Regions from separate parts of the Homo sapiens genome. Here regions 1 and 3 are each linked to region 2. The links are contacts of gene promoters, found by promoter capture Hi-C in blood cells and fetal thymus (Javierre and others, 2016). All regions are on one chromosome and are shown on one strand. The core of a region is centred on a gene start or on the middle of the fragment in contact, and the rest is flanking DNA. Distances in the headings are between cores, read along the strand shown.

Evidence for each region. Contacts are between HindIII fragments. The CHiCAGO score rates a contact against its expected background, and 5 or more counts as called.
Region 1: a fragment that was not itself captured here is called in contact with the fragment with the promoter of RBP5 in region 2 in 2 of 17 cell types (M1 macrophages and M0 macrophages); the score reaches 6.6 in M1 macrophages.
Region 3: the fragment with the promoter of MRPL51 here is called in contact with the fragment with the promoter of RBP5 in region 2 in 2 of 17 cell types (activated CD4 T cells and naive CD4 T cells); the score reaches 8.2 in activated CD4 T cells.

The regions. Positions count from the first base shown.
Region 1 is chr12:7,650,746-7,655,332 of GRCh38, forward strand. It overlaps APOBEC1 (apolipoprotein B mRNA editing enzyme catalytic subunit 1), which reads right to left. Exons shown (of 5, transcript NM_001644.5): 2 at 3,860-3,887; 3 at 1,693-2,090; 4 at 278-396. Among named protein-coding and RNA genes, the nearest start is that of APOBEC1, 13 kb to the right of the region's middle. The HindIII fragment of the contact is 3,129 bases long and covers 79-3,207 here.
Region 2 is chr12:7,126,799-7,131,163 of GRCh38, forward strand. It overlaps RBP5 (retinol binding protein 5), which reads right to left and starts at 2,091. Exons shown (of 4, transcript NM_031491.4): 1 at 1,905-2,091; 2 at 1,442-1,620. The coding sequence starts at 1,977. It overlaps CLSTN3 (calsyntenin 3), which reads left to right and starts at 3,573. Exons shown (of 18, transcript NM_014718.4): 1 at 3,573-3,914. The coding sequence starts at 3,851. RefSeq lists a silencer at 3,330-3,429 and an enhancer at 3,871-4,365. The HindIII fragment of the contact is 14,463 bases long and covers 1-4,365 here.
Region 3 is chr12:6,490,566-6,495,535 of GRCh38, forward strand. It overlaps MRPL51 (mitochondrial ribosomal protein L51), which reads right to left and starts at 2,697. Exons shown (of 3, transcript NM_016497.4): 1 at 2,493-2,697; 2 at 2,297-2,407; 3 at 1,321-1,902. The coding sequence starts at 2,571. The coding sequence ends at 1,706. NCAPD2 (non-SMC condensin I complex subunit D2) reads left to right here and starts at 3,537. Exons shown (of 32, transcript NM_014865.4): 1 at 3,537-3,589; 2 at 4,511-4,660. The coding sequence starts at 4,534. RefSeq lists enhancers at 2,915-2,964, 3,132-3,729 and a silencer at 3,165-3,494. The HindIII fragment of the contact is 4,003 bases long and covers 2,502-4,970 here.

The DNA.
Region 1 (4,587 bases), core at 393-2,892, 520 kb after region 2:
CAGGATCTTGTTATACCACGCAGGCTGGAGCATATTGGCGTGATCATAGCTCACTGCAGCTTGCAACGCCTAGACTCAAGCTTCCTGCGTAGCTGGGACTACAAGTGTGCACCACCATACCTGGCTCTGAGATTTTCTTAAGAGGAGCTAGCTAGTTAAATAACTAAATCTCAATATAAATGTCAAAAAGAAGATATGAGTCAAATTTTCTCAGGAAAGACCTTTGAAGAAGGATGCTTCTTTTTGCATCAACATTTGTGTCCCTAAAGTGACTTACTAGAATTATGCAGTGCAGCTCCAGTGCGTACAACATCATCCACAGAGGTGGGTATTGTGGCCAGTGAGCTTCATCCCCAGGTGGGTAGTTGACAAAATTCCTCCAGCAGTGATAATACTCTAAGGAAACACAAATCTTGGCTCATTCAACAAGCACAATGGTAAATTACTTAAGAAGATCCCCAACCTAGCTTCCCGTATAGAAAGCCTGTAGTCTCTAGTCTAGTTGCTGCTGGACATTAGACCCCCTAAAAAGAATAAAGCAGTTCATTTAAAGATGGCTGAGAGGCAAGACTAGAGAAAAGAGTTGTTGGCTGGGTGCGGTGGCTCACGCCTGTAATCCCAGCACTTTGGGAGGCCGAGGGGGGTGGATCACAGGTCAGGAGATCGAGACCATCCTGCCTAACACAGTGAAACCCCGTCTCTACTAAAAATACAAAAAATTAGCCGGGCGTGGTGGTGGGCGCCTGTAGTCCCAGCTACTGGGGAGGCTGAGGCAGGAGAATGGCGTGAACCCCAGGTGGAGCTTGCAGTGAGTCGAGATTGCACCACTGCACTCCAGCCTGGGCGAAAGAGCAAGACTCCGTCTCAAAAAAAAAAAAAAAAAAGAGTTGTTGTTTGTTTTTGTTTTTGTTTTTTGATACAGGGTTTCGCTCTGTCACCTAGGCCAGTGTGCAGTGGTCCAATCATAGCTCACTGCAGCCTTGAACTTCTGGGCTCAGGAGATCTTCCTACCTCAGCCTTTAAAGGTGTATGCTGCCATGCCTGTCTGATTTTTTTATTTTATTTTTTATTTTATTTTATTTTATTTTATCTTGAGACGGAGTCTCGCTCTGTCGCCCAGGCTGGAGTGCAGTGGCGCGATCTCGGCTCACTGCAAGCTCCGCCTCCCGGGTTCACGCCATTCTCCTGCCTCAGCCTCCCGAGTAGCTGGGACTACAGGCGCCCGCCACCACGCCTGGCTAATTTTTTTGTATTTTTTAGTAGAGACGGGGTTTCACCGTGTTAGCCAGGATGGTCTCCATCTCCTGATCTCATGATCCGCCCACCTCGGCCTCCCAAAGTGCTGGGATTACAGGCGTGAGCCACCGCACCTGGCCGGATTTTTAAATTTTTTTTAGAGATGGGGTCTCACTATGTTGCCCAGGCTGATCTTGAACCCCTGGCTTCAAGTGATCCTCCTGCCTTGGCCTCCCAAAGTTCTGGGATTATAGGCATGAGCCACCATGCGTAGCCAGGAGTTGTATTTTTGTAACTTTCCTTGTCATGAATTTCAGACCTAGTCCTTTATGACATTATTTTGGACTTTTACTTCTGAGACTTCCAGCCTGGGCTAACCAATCTTCTGGCCTAAAAACAGCTACTATCACCACAGTCTGTTGTAAACAATGAAGTTTCTTTGTTTACTGTTTTTACCTGATGCTCTCATAATCTGAATAGTTACTCCACTGTTAACAAGGTCCCTGAGACCTTGCCGATTTTGTTGATCCATGTGCCAAAAAAGCCGAGCTACGTAGATCACTAGAGTCACACCAGGGTGCCGACTCAGAAACTCTCTAATAGCCTGGGAGCATTCCCAGCAGGGACTCCAGGACAAGAACCAGGTGATGGAGCAGCTCATGGATGGGTGAAAATCTCTTTCTGACGTAAATTTTTTTATAAAATTAACTTCCACGTGATTGGTGGTGTTTTTGCCTGAGCTTCGCCAGATCTTCCGGCTCATGCCCCACTTGATTTCGTAGAGCAGACAGGCCTCTTTACGAAGTTCTCTGGGGTCATAGAAGACGTCAAACTCCCAGGGTTCGATTCTTCTCCTGAAATACAAAAAGCAGCCCACACTGTCATGCCACATTTAGAGAGATCTTAGAAATCTTTTCCTGCTCCCCTCTTCTTTTTTTATTTTATTTTATTTTATTTTATTTTTTTAAGATGGAGTCTCACACTGTTGCCCAGACTGGAGTGCAGTGGTGCAATCTCAGCTCACCACAACCTCCACCTCCCAGGTTCAAGCGATTTTTCTGCCTCAACTTCCCAAGTAGCTGGGATTACAGGCTCCCGCCACCATGTCCAGCTAATTTTTTTGTATTTTTAGTAGAGACGGGGTTTCACCATGTTGGCCAGGCTGGTCTCAAACTCCTGACCTTGTGATTCGCCCACCTCAGCCTCCCAAAGTGCTGGGATTACAGGCGTGAGCCACCACGCCCAGCCTCTGCTCCCCTCTTCTATCAGGCTGATCTGAGACATAACATCTCAGGAAACTTCTTTTTCTAGTATATGTCTCAAAGTTATCTGAAGAGGTCTGTTTGAATTATCAGATTTTTTTTTCTCACAAACATAGTGCACAGGTTTCTTCCCCCAGTCACATTATTTGGTGACCACTCTCTAATACCATTATGTTTTAGTCTTGAATTCAGGTGTAAGCGTGTCTTTGTTTCTCTTTTAAATTTTCCTTCATTATATTCTAACCCTTTTTTTTTTTTTTTTTTTTTAAGACATGGTCTCTCTAAGCTGGCCAGCCTGATCTCCCCTTCCTGGACTCAAGCTACTCTCCTGCCTCAGCCTCCTGAGTAGCTGAGACCACAGGTGTGCCCCACCATGCCTAGCTATATTCTAACTTTTCTATTTTACACCTAGAGGTGCTATGTTCCAATCCTTATCTTTTCTATTCCTCAATGGACTCTAACCAGATTTTCTCAAGTGTTGACGCCTCAAATTGCCAACAAGATTGTATTGTCAAGAACAGACAAAAGAGCAATTTAGCCTCAAGATTCTTCCACATTAGGATTCTATATACTAACTCCTATAAGAAAGAAATTCTACTTGCTCTCAGTGGTGTCTTTAGATTTAACACTCTCTATGTCTGAAAGCTGTAACTCAAGGGAAACTCAGAATTGAACTGCAGACTCTTCTTTGCAATATGGTTAAGTCACAAGCTTATTACATCCTAATAGTTCCCACTCATCCCTAAAGTATCACATTCATTTACTACATAGATCAATCCTTCCACCTATCAAGAGATAATATATTCCTTAACATGACTTCCCTGTCCTATGTCTGAAAAATGGGCAGACATTATAAAACGAAGATGAAGTTAAAGTGACAAATGAGTTTCCCAGGTATTTCACTAATGGCTATAAAAGCATGCGATTTAAAAAAAGAAGAGAAATTGTAAGACAATAACAGATAAGCAAGCTAGAAAATCATTTATTTAAAGAGATCAAAAGACATAAGAGCAAAGATATAAAAAACAATAACCATAGAAAATGAAACTGGAAAAGGCAAAAATGAAAGAAAGAATGGAAAATGGCAAAAGAGAAAAGGAACAATAAAGAAAGCTATATCCACAGTTCCTTTTTTTTTTTTTTTTTGAGACAGGGTCTCAGTCTGTTACCCCGGCTGCAGTGCAGTGGTGCAATCATAGCTCACTGCAGCCTTGACCTCCTGGGCTCAAGCGATCCTCCTACTCCTGCCTCAGCCTCCTGAGTAGCTGGGATTATAGGCGCATGTGCCACCATGCACAGCTCTTAAATACCCATTGATTCTTGATCAAATTAAATGGGCACTGTGATAGTGTTATTCTTACCTCAGAGTGGGGTCACCGGTTGAAGGACCTGTTGACCAAGATATGATTATGTCAAACAACACTCAAATATCAAATGAGTTGCTAAGAAAAAGTGCTCTATTATTCCAAACCTCCAAATCATCTCAGAAAATGGAATTTGAAGATTCTCTCATGGATTAATTGTATTGGACCAGCTCATTGTACCCAAGAAAAGCAAGATTTTTAAGGACTCTGCCAAAATCTCTTTTCCCAGATGCCCAATCCCAAACAAGGTAGTCTGCCTTAAGGCTTCAACAAAAATGATTAAGCACAATGGGAAAGTCACTTCTTAAAGCCTCTTAGAGGCCGGGTGCGGTGGCTCACGCCTGTAATTCTAGCACTTTGGGAGACCGAGGCAGGTGGTTCACCTGAGGTCAGGAGTTTGAGACCAGCCTGGCCAACATGGTGAAACCCTGTCTCTACCAAAAATACAAAAATTAGCCAGGTGTGATTGCGGGCACCTATAATCCCAGCTACTCGGGTGGCTGAGGCAGGAGAATCACTTGAACCTGGGGAGAGGAGGTTGCAGTGAGCCAAGATCGCACCATTGCACTCCAGCCTGGGCAAAAGAGCAAAACTCTGTCTCAAAAATAAAAATTAAAAATAGGCCCGGTGTGGTGGCTCACGCCTGTAATCCCAGCACTTTGGGAGGCTGAGGCGGGCAGATCATCTGAGGTCGGGAGTTCCAGACTAGCCTGACCAACATGGAG
Region 2 (4,365 bases), core at 841-3,340:
CTGTGTACTTTATTATTATCATTTTGATACAGAGTCTTGCTCTGTCACCCAGACTAGAATGCAATGGCATGATCTTGGCTCACTGCAACCTCTGGCTCCCGGGTTCAAGTAATTCTCCTGCCTCAGCCTCCCAAGTAGCTGGGATTACAGGCATGCGCCACCATGCCCGGCTAATTTTTGTACTTTTGTATTTTTTTTTTTTTTTTTTTTTGAGATAGAATTTCGCTCTTGTTGCCCAGGCTGGAGTGCAGTGGTGCGATCTTGGCTCACTGCAACCTCTGCCTCCCAGGTTCAAGTGATTCTTCTGCCTCAGCCTCCTGAGTAGCTGGGATTACAGGCATGCGCCACCATGCCTGCCTAATTTTTTGTATTTTTAGTAGAGATGGGGTTTCTCCATGTTGGTCAGGCTGGTCTCGAACTCTTGACCTCAGGTGATCCGCCCGCCTTGGCCTCCCAAAGTACTGGGATTACAGGTGTGAGCCACTGCACCTGGCCTAATTTATGTATTTTTAGTAGAGATGAGGTTTCACCATGTTGGCCAGGCTGGTCTTGAACTCCTGGCCTCAAGTGATCTGCCTGCCTCAGCCTCCCAAAGTCTTGGGATTATGGGTGTGAGCCACCACGCCCAGCCTTTTCCCATATGCTTTAAATCATCTCTAGATTACTTATAATACCTAATGCAATGTACATGCTCTGTAAATAGTTGCTATACTGTATTGTTTTTTATTTGTATCATTTTGTATTGTTATTTTTTATTTTTATTTTTCCCAAATATTTTTCCATTTGCAGTTTGCTGAAGCTGTGGATGCAGAACCCATGAATATGGAGGGCCAACTGTATTTTGTAGGCAGTTGAAAACATTGCCCTGGAGCTCAGGAGATGGCTCTGGCTGGAGAATTCATGCCAAGGGCAGCCTATAGATGGAAGCAGAAGGCATGGGTGTAGATGATTTAGCCTATGGATAGTGGGCAGACAAAAGGGAGAAGACATTAAGAACAAAACTCTGCGGAGAAAACTCCAGTTTAAAGGATTAATAGGAGGACTAGGATCTGCAAAGGAGGCTAAGAAGGAATATGTAAGAAGTAGAAAGAAATGCAGGAGAGTGAAGTTATTGATGCTAAAGTAAAAGGGACTCTGGGTGACCAACAGTGTCACAGGCTGGAGGGTGGGCAAATGTTTGCTCTTCGGTCTGGGTTGGCCTGTTCTTTGCCCTTTGGGCTGGTGATAAGAGGGGGCAGGGAAGAAGTGGGAGAGAGACAGGGAGCACCAGGACCTGTTAGTTCTGGAGACTGGTATCCTGGGGACTGCATTCCCTGCTGTGGTGACCATTCCCCTCCTCCCCGCTGCTCTGGCTGGGGAAGGTCACTTTGTTTTGCCCCATGTTGTTAGGAGTCTCCTGTGATGCCTCCTTCCGGCCACCGCCCAGCCAGGGGAAATGTACCTGGCATTTTCGTCCGTCCACGCTCCTGAGGTCCTCCTCAAACTCCACTCCCACATCAAACTGCACAGTGTAGTTTCGGAAGGTGCTGAGCGTCCTCACCGTCATGTGGTTGCCCTGGTGTTCGATCTCCTTGTCCGGCTTCAGCAGCAGCGCGATCTTCCGCACAGCCAAGCTGATGTCTGTGGGGGCTGCCTGTTAGTAGGGGTGCTGCTAGCCAGCCAGGAGCTCCTCTGCCTGCAGCAGCCCCTCAGGGCTGTGAGTTTCCCTTCTTTGGGTCTGGGACTGTGGATTCACCCCCTCCTACCAATGCCTGGTTAGAAATGGATCCCAGGTCTGGTGCCAGCCGCCTGAGCCTTTCCACAGTGTCCAACCCCGGGCATTCCCTCTTCTCCATGGGACCAAGAAGCAGGAAGGAAGAGGGGAGAAAGGGAGTGACAGGGGTCTGGGAGGGCGAGGCCATTACTTAGGGCTTGCAGGTAGTCCTCCATGTTCTTCTGCGAGACAAAGCGGTAGTAGCCAGTGAGGTTGGGAGGCATTGTGTGGATGAAGGTTTCAGGAGAATGCAGGAGACAGGGTGAGGAAGGAGGGGGTGTTGTCTGGCAGGTGAGGCTGAGAGATTCCAGCCAGCTCCACACACAGAGACAGGATGTGTAATGGCCGGGTTACCAGGGCTTTTTATAAGGCTGGGGCCCTGTTGCAATAAGAGTCCCTACCAGACTTCTTCCCTCCCCGCATGGTGAGTTTGGGGGTGGTGTCTCCAGCCTGAAGGAGGGGCAGGGATTTGGCAAAGTTGCGCCTGACCTTGGCTTTTCCTGAGGAAGGAACCTGGAGCAGGATCCTTCCTGAGGAAGGAACCTGGAGCAGGATCTGGGGCTGTCAGTCATCCAAAACTCAGCCATCCAAAGGTCAGTGTTGGCCTCCACCTCATTTCTGGCAGGCTTGGGAACCGTCCCAGGGCCTGAGGGGCAGTCTTTCCTGGGAGACACCTGAGGCTGGTCTGGCTGTGTGAGGTGGAGATGAGTTCCAACAATATCCTGAGATCCTGGGACTGAGTGATGTTGGAAGATGTGAGGGGAGGGGGTGAGGATGGCCAGCTGCCACCATGAAGAGCACCCTGTAGGCCTGGCTCTCAGAGCTCCCTCAGGTAGTGTGCTCAACTGGGACCCCAAAGTGGCATTCCAGACTCTTGGTCCTAAAGAGCCATTAGGAGGGAGGTGGAGCCCGAGGGGTGCTGAGTTCAAAGTCCGGAACAGACAGCCTGAGAGGAGTTTGTTGGCTATTCTGGAGAATTTTATTCTTTTTGGCTTGGGACCCAGGGGGTTTTCTCTCCCTCTGAGTCATCGATGAGACCGTAACCCCCAGTCCCCAGCCCTAGGACAGCCCATGCTTTCCAGATGTATTTCTGTGAAGGTGGGGTGGAGGCGCCTAAATAATATTGTGCCCCGCCCCCAGCTGCCCAATTCTCTCTCGAACCTGCCATCGTCCCGGGCTTCAGAATCCACTGGGCTTGGTTCATCATGGTTTAAGGTGAAATTCGGGGCGAAGGAGGCAGGACAGGTAGGCAGGAGGAGGCGGCCGGTCCCGACAGGTGCGTGCGCGAGGGGTGCACGACGTCCTGCCCCTCCTTGGGTCCCAGAGCCTCGATACCGCCCTGCGGACCGCCCTGTGGCTTCCTCGCAGCCCTGGGCTACAAATGCCAGGATTTCTCAGGCTCAGACTGAGGGTTTTACTTCACCCTTCCCAGAGGGCACGCAGCACGGATCTGTGGATGGAAGGGGCTGTGGAAACAGGTTATGGCAGAGTTGGGGGGCGGGGTGACGCGGTGCCACCCCTCCTGGCCGCCCTCAGGTCCCGCTGACGTCTCTCTTCCCCACCCCCTGGCTTCTGGCTTCTTTCTCCCCACGTCCCTCTTCTTTCCCACCCCCTCCGTGGCTCTCCAGCTTCCTCCCCAGCCCCCGCAGTTCCTCGGCTCCCCCAAAATTGCAGCCAGGGGAAGGAGCCTTGAAACTCTCCAGCCCCGACGCCCCAGTCTCATTGGCTCCCTCCCCCGCTGCAGCACCTGGTCCCCCCCCCTCCCAGTCACCTGATTGGCCGGCGGCCCCATCAATCGTTGCCCGGCTGTGCTGACGTCATCCTGCAGTAGCGGGGTTGGGGTGGGAGTGAGAGAGTGAGGACGCTGGGCTGGGGGAAACGGGAAGCCGCTGCAAGTCCACCGCCTCAGCTACCCAGATTGGGATCTGCCCAGGCCCGCTTTATGGACTAGTGTGGGCGGCAGGCTCCTTTCCGTCCCTGCCCTGCTGTACCCCGCTCCTTGGAGACCCCCTGTATCCCTCCCGCAAGGTGGAATCCGCAGGCTGGAGGCTCCCAGGGGAGGCAAACGCCTGGCCCTGCCCTGCCCCACGCCGCACCATGACCCTCCTGCTGCTGCCCCTTCTGCTGGCCTCTCTGCTCGCGTCCTGCTCCTGTAACAAAGGTGAGTGAGGTGGGGGTGGGGGTACCGAAAGAGGGGCGTCGGGCAGCGCCGTGCGGGGTGGGGGTGGGAAGGAGGTGTCGAGGCTCCCTGGCACCTGACAGGTGTCTGGCCCTCTTCTGATCACCCTCCTTCCCATCCGTTCTCAGACCTGCTCCGTCTCCTCTCTTTCTCTTCCCCCAGCTACATCTTCCTTTCTGGTCCATCTCTACCCATGCGTTTCTCTTGCTGGTCATCTTGCTCCCATTTGGTCTCCATTCCCGTCCTGGGGTCTCTATTCTCCCCTTCCCCTAATTTCTACACGCTGGTGGCTACCTCGGGTCTGGGAAGGACTGCCCCCGAGCCGGTGATAGGCCTCTCCCCGCGGCTCTCCCTTTCACTGGCGCATGCTAAGGGTGTGTGGCAGATCCATCTGCTTCGCCTCCATCCCATCCTGGGGAGAAAGTATTTGCTG
Region 3 (4,970 bases), core at 1,447-3,946, 640 kb before region 2:
TAAGACCCAGGATCATGTTTTCATATATACCCATCAATCCATTTATCCAAAACCCACTTGTAATTTAACAAGTGCTTTTTATTTTTATTGAAGATGGGGTCTTGCTATGTTCCTAAGGCTGGCCTCCAACTCCTGGTTTCAAAGGATCCTCCCACCTCAGCCTGCAGAGTAGCTGGGATTATAAGTGTGCTCCAACCACCATGCCCCGCAACAAGTATTTATTAATCTAACTTCACTTTTATGGAGTTTTTGTTTTTTAAAATATAGAGATGGGGTCTTGCTATGTTGCCCAGGCTGGTCTTGAACTCCTGGCTTCAAGCAATCCTCATGCCTTGGCCTCCCAAAGTGTTGGGCTTACAGGTGTGAGCCACTGCACCCAGCCCTAACTTCACTTTTTTTTTTTTTTTTTTTTTGAGACAGTCTCACCCCAGTTGCTCAGGCTGGAATGCAGTGGCATGATCTCAGCTCACTGCAGCCTCAAACTCCTGGGCTCAGGTGATCTTCCCACCTCAGCCTCTTGTGTAGCTGGGACTGCAGGCACGCAGAACCATGAGTAGCTGGAACTACAGGCATGCAGAACCATGCCCAGCTAAGTTGTTTTTTTTTTTTTTTTGAGACAGAGTCTTGCTCTGTTGCTCAGGCTGGAGTGCAGTGGCACGATCTCGGCTCACTGCAAGCTCCACCTCCCAGGTTCAAGTGATTCTCCTGCCTCAGACACCTGAGTAGCTGGGACTACAGGTGTCCGCCACCACTCCTGGCTAATTTTTTTGTTTGTTTGTTTTTGTATTTTCAGTAGAGACAGGGCTGTGTTAGCCAGGATAGTCTCGATCTCCTGAGCTCGTGGTCCGCCCCCCTCCGCCTCCCAAGGTGCTGGGATTACAGGCAGGAGCCACCGCACCCAGCCACTTTATTTTTAGTAGAGACGGAGTTTCACCATGTCGCCCAGACCAGTCTCAAATTCCTGTCTCCAAGCAATCCTCCCACCTCAGCCTCCCAAAATGCTGGGATTACATGTGGGCACCATTCTGCCCAGCTGTAATTCTTAAAAATTATTATTAAAAAAGAACAAAACACATAGATGCCCTAGACTCAACTCAGCTCTACTGATCAATCTTTAGGGGTTAGGACTAGGCTTTTGAAATGTTAAAACACCCAGAAAACTGATGACCAGTCAGGCTTAGTATCCGCCATCTCTACCATTCATATGGTACTTAATGTTTCATATTTAAATGGAAAGGACACCTCACACTTTTTTGTTTTTCCTATAGTTCCTACTCAGAGAATATGCCTAATAAATATTTTATGAGAGTAGTACAGAAGTATGACTCCATTTTTCTCTTATATTTCATTTCAGTGTGGAAGGCTCTTTAGAAACACTATTAACATAACAGCATTATGTCAAAAAGCGCCAATAACATTCTCACCAACTTTTCTTTTTAAAGGAATTAGGTATAGCTAGACTGTAAAAGGCAAGTGGTGTGAAGCCCAAACCTAAGATCCTAAGATCTAGGATGAGTCAAGACTTCATAGTCTACATGAGTAGAGGCAGCATCTAGAGGAAAACAAAAGTATGTGGCTATCAAATTCCAAAGAAGCCCCATTTTATTACAGAGAAAATACAAAGCCGTTTCCTCACAGGGAAAAGTACAGTTTCCCTTCTCCAGGGTGACAGATGAGCCTTTTCCGAAGTTCTCAGCTTTCTCTTCTATCGAAACTTCCCATGTCGGTTAAAGTGTTTGTAGAGATAGCGGATGCGTTTATTAAGGTTGTGCAGGTCATCAGCGAACATTCTACTTCCAACCATTTTCCTCTTTCGGATACAACGTTGCAATTCATTCCCTTTCCAACCTCGAAGCCATATGGGCCCCCTGATCAGTTCTTTGGGGTGCTTTTCAAAGTTTCCTGTGTAATGTGAGAGAACACATTAGATCCAAGACAAGAGAACTCATCCTACACCAGCTAAGCTTTCAACCCACGGTTGCATCTTGCTGAGCAGCACCTATAGACAAGGAACATTACAGTACAGAACAATAGCACAGACTCTGGAGCCAGACTGCTTGGGGTTAAAATTCTGATGCTGCCATTTATTAACTTTGGAAAAACTGTTTATTTTTACTTATGAAGTAAAAATTATACGAGGGGACTCAGAACAGTGCCAAACACAATGTAAACAGCTACATAAGTGTTTGCTCTTACTATTGAGCACAGTACCACTCTCTACACAGGAGGAAAAGATAGTCGTTACAGCCTAATTGCCATTCTGAAATTGTGTACCACGTCGAAGGTCAAGTCTTACCCAGGATCCCGATGTTGTCATACACTCCGAACATGGCCCTTTTCTCGTTCCAACGATCAACCACTTTGGGGGGCGGGAGAGTGAGCCTTATACCGATCAATCTAGGCACACCTGGGGATGGGGAAGGGAGGGAATTAATCTGAGCCGCCTATTATACTACGAAGCAGTTATCGGGGTGCCTACATCAGCCACTTACCAAGAGAGAAGCTTCTGCACGCCAGAGGCACCCAGTCCCACAGGCGCCTACCTGCCCCGGATAAGAGGTTCCCTGCCATTTCTCTAGTCTCCCCCCTTCAACAGCACACCAAATAAGCCCAAGAAGATGACAGGAACCGTCCCCGCCAACTTCACACGAGTACTAAGGCGAAGACAGCCATCTTGGGCCTTACCCAGGCAGCTGTGGGCGCACCGCCCACCTACGCCCCATCCGCAACAGCCACGAGCCCCGCCCCCCGGGTTCCGGCAGGAGGGGCCTCTACCACCCTTCCCGCCTCAGTGCTTCCGGTCCGCCTGCCGGAAGTTTTGGAGCGCCGGACAAGCTGAGGTCCGCGACTCGTCGCTAAGATTCCCCAAAACTGAGATTTCAAGAAAATTCACCCTTTCCGCTTTCTTTGGCGTCCTTCAACCGTGAAGGAAATGAAGGTTGAGAACCTGGAACCCGCTTCCAATGACCAAGCCCTTTCTCTGTGCCTCACAACAGTCTTCCGCTGTAGCTGTTTTTATTACCCCTATTTTACTACTGGGGAGGAGATTTGAGGTCCTGAAAGTGAAGTGACTTGCTGGACGTCACTTAGCAGAGGAGATGGCGAAACCTGGATTAGAGGCGATGCCTTCTAACTCCCAGCGTGGACTTGCCTCCTTTCCTGGGGGTGACTGAATGCCCAGCCAGGGACGCGACGTCTCTGGCCAGCAGAAATACGGCCTCCTCCCCGCCGACTGGGCAAAGGGGGACCTTGCGGCCAAGGAGGGATTCGCAGGCGGGCCGGGGGTGGGAGCGGGGGCCGGAGCCGGAGCCTTGGCCCGCCCCCGGGCGGCGCTGTGATTGGCCGGCCGCTCCGGCGGGCGTCGCGATTGGCCGTCCTGCAGCCGTTGAGATTTGAACTCGGTATTTGTGGCTTTGCCCGCGCGTTGCCAGACTCAGAGGCGGCCCTTTGCCTCTGCCTGCCGGGGATTGGCCGGATTCTCCGCCGACTTGAAAACTGCCTTGCTAATTGGTGCGTGTTGTGCACGCGTGTTTTTTCCTTTTCATTTCAGCCTGACTGCCGGAATCAGAGCCGCGGGTGAGATCCCCAGGTAAGATGTGGTGTTGCAGGTCGTAAAAGAGTAGGAAAGTCGAGTACATGGCAGTGTGACCCAGTCTTGGGCAAAATACAATAGGCCTAGTAAGTATATCCCTGGGGCGCGATGTGTGAGAAACTGTAAGTCTGACAGATCCGCAACGGAAGTTGTTAAGCAAATCGCTTAACAGATCCGCAACGGAAGATGTTAAGCAAATCGCTTAACAGATCCGCAACGGAAGATGTTAAGCAAATCGCTTAACTTTCTTACTTCAATTTCCGCTCTGTAAACTCATTTGTATTATTATGCACCTCATGGGATTGAGGTTAGGATACTTAGATCAGATATGATACATGCAAACAGCCTAACAGACTTGGCACAGGATAAATAAATCATCATTGTTAATGCTCTTACCATTCTGGTGCAGGAAGCCCACTAGCCCATGCTGGGGCACTGTTTTGGCCTCAGACGAGATCAGACCATTCTCTCTATACTTAAGGAGCTTTGCACATAAAAATGGAAATAATAGTACTTTGCACATTAATATGCCACTTTATAGTTCTTTAAACACCTTCGTACTGCTTGATTTGTTTGATCATCAGAGCAACTTTGTGAAGTAATCAGAGTTTAGTAACCCTGTTTTTACAGATAAAGCCCAGAGGTTTAAGTGTCAAGACCAAGTGCCAAAGTCACTACTAGAATTAGTTTCTAGTCCAGGGTCAATCTCAGATCCCGTAAGATAATGTTACTAGCTTGCTATAAAACTAAAAACCATTATATATGTTGGGGGTGGGGAACTAACAAAACCAGATGATGTTACTAGCTTGCTATAAAACTAAAAGCCATTATATATGTTGGGGATGGGAAAGTAATAGAACCAGATACGAAGACAGGTCTTGAATATAGACCCTGACTTTTTCACTGTTTGGTTTCTAGCCCTGTGAGCCTGTAGGAGTAGAATGGCTCCCCAAATGTATGAGTTCCATCTGCCATTATCCCCAGAGGAGTTGTTGAAAAGTGGAGGGGTGAATCAGTATGTTGTGCAAGAGGTACTGTCCATCAAACATCTTCCACCACAGCTTAGAGGTAAGAGTCCATAGCTGTCACTGTACCTAGCTCTTTCAAAGGACCATCTCACATGGAATTGCTACATTGTCATTTCTGTTCCACTACACCAGGAAGCATCATAAGAGCAAGAAACATGTTTTTCCTATTTTGCTGTTTTATCCTAAAATTGCATGGGATGCATGACCCAAAGAGTACATTCATTAACTTCCTTTTCTGGATTAGTCAAAAACAGTCTTGGTGTATGTGATTACTCTTTGGGGAAAAGTTATTTTCCATCTTTACCCCTTACTGTGTGTCAAAATTAAGTCCTGGTGGATTTAAGAGTTAT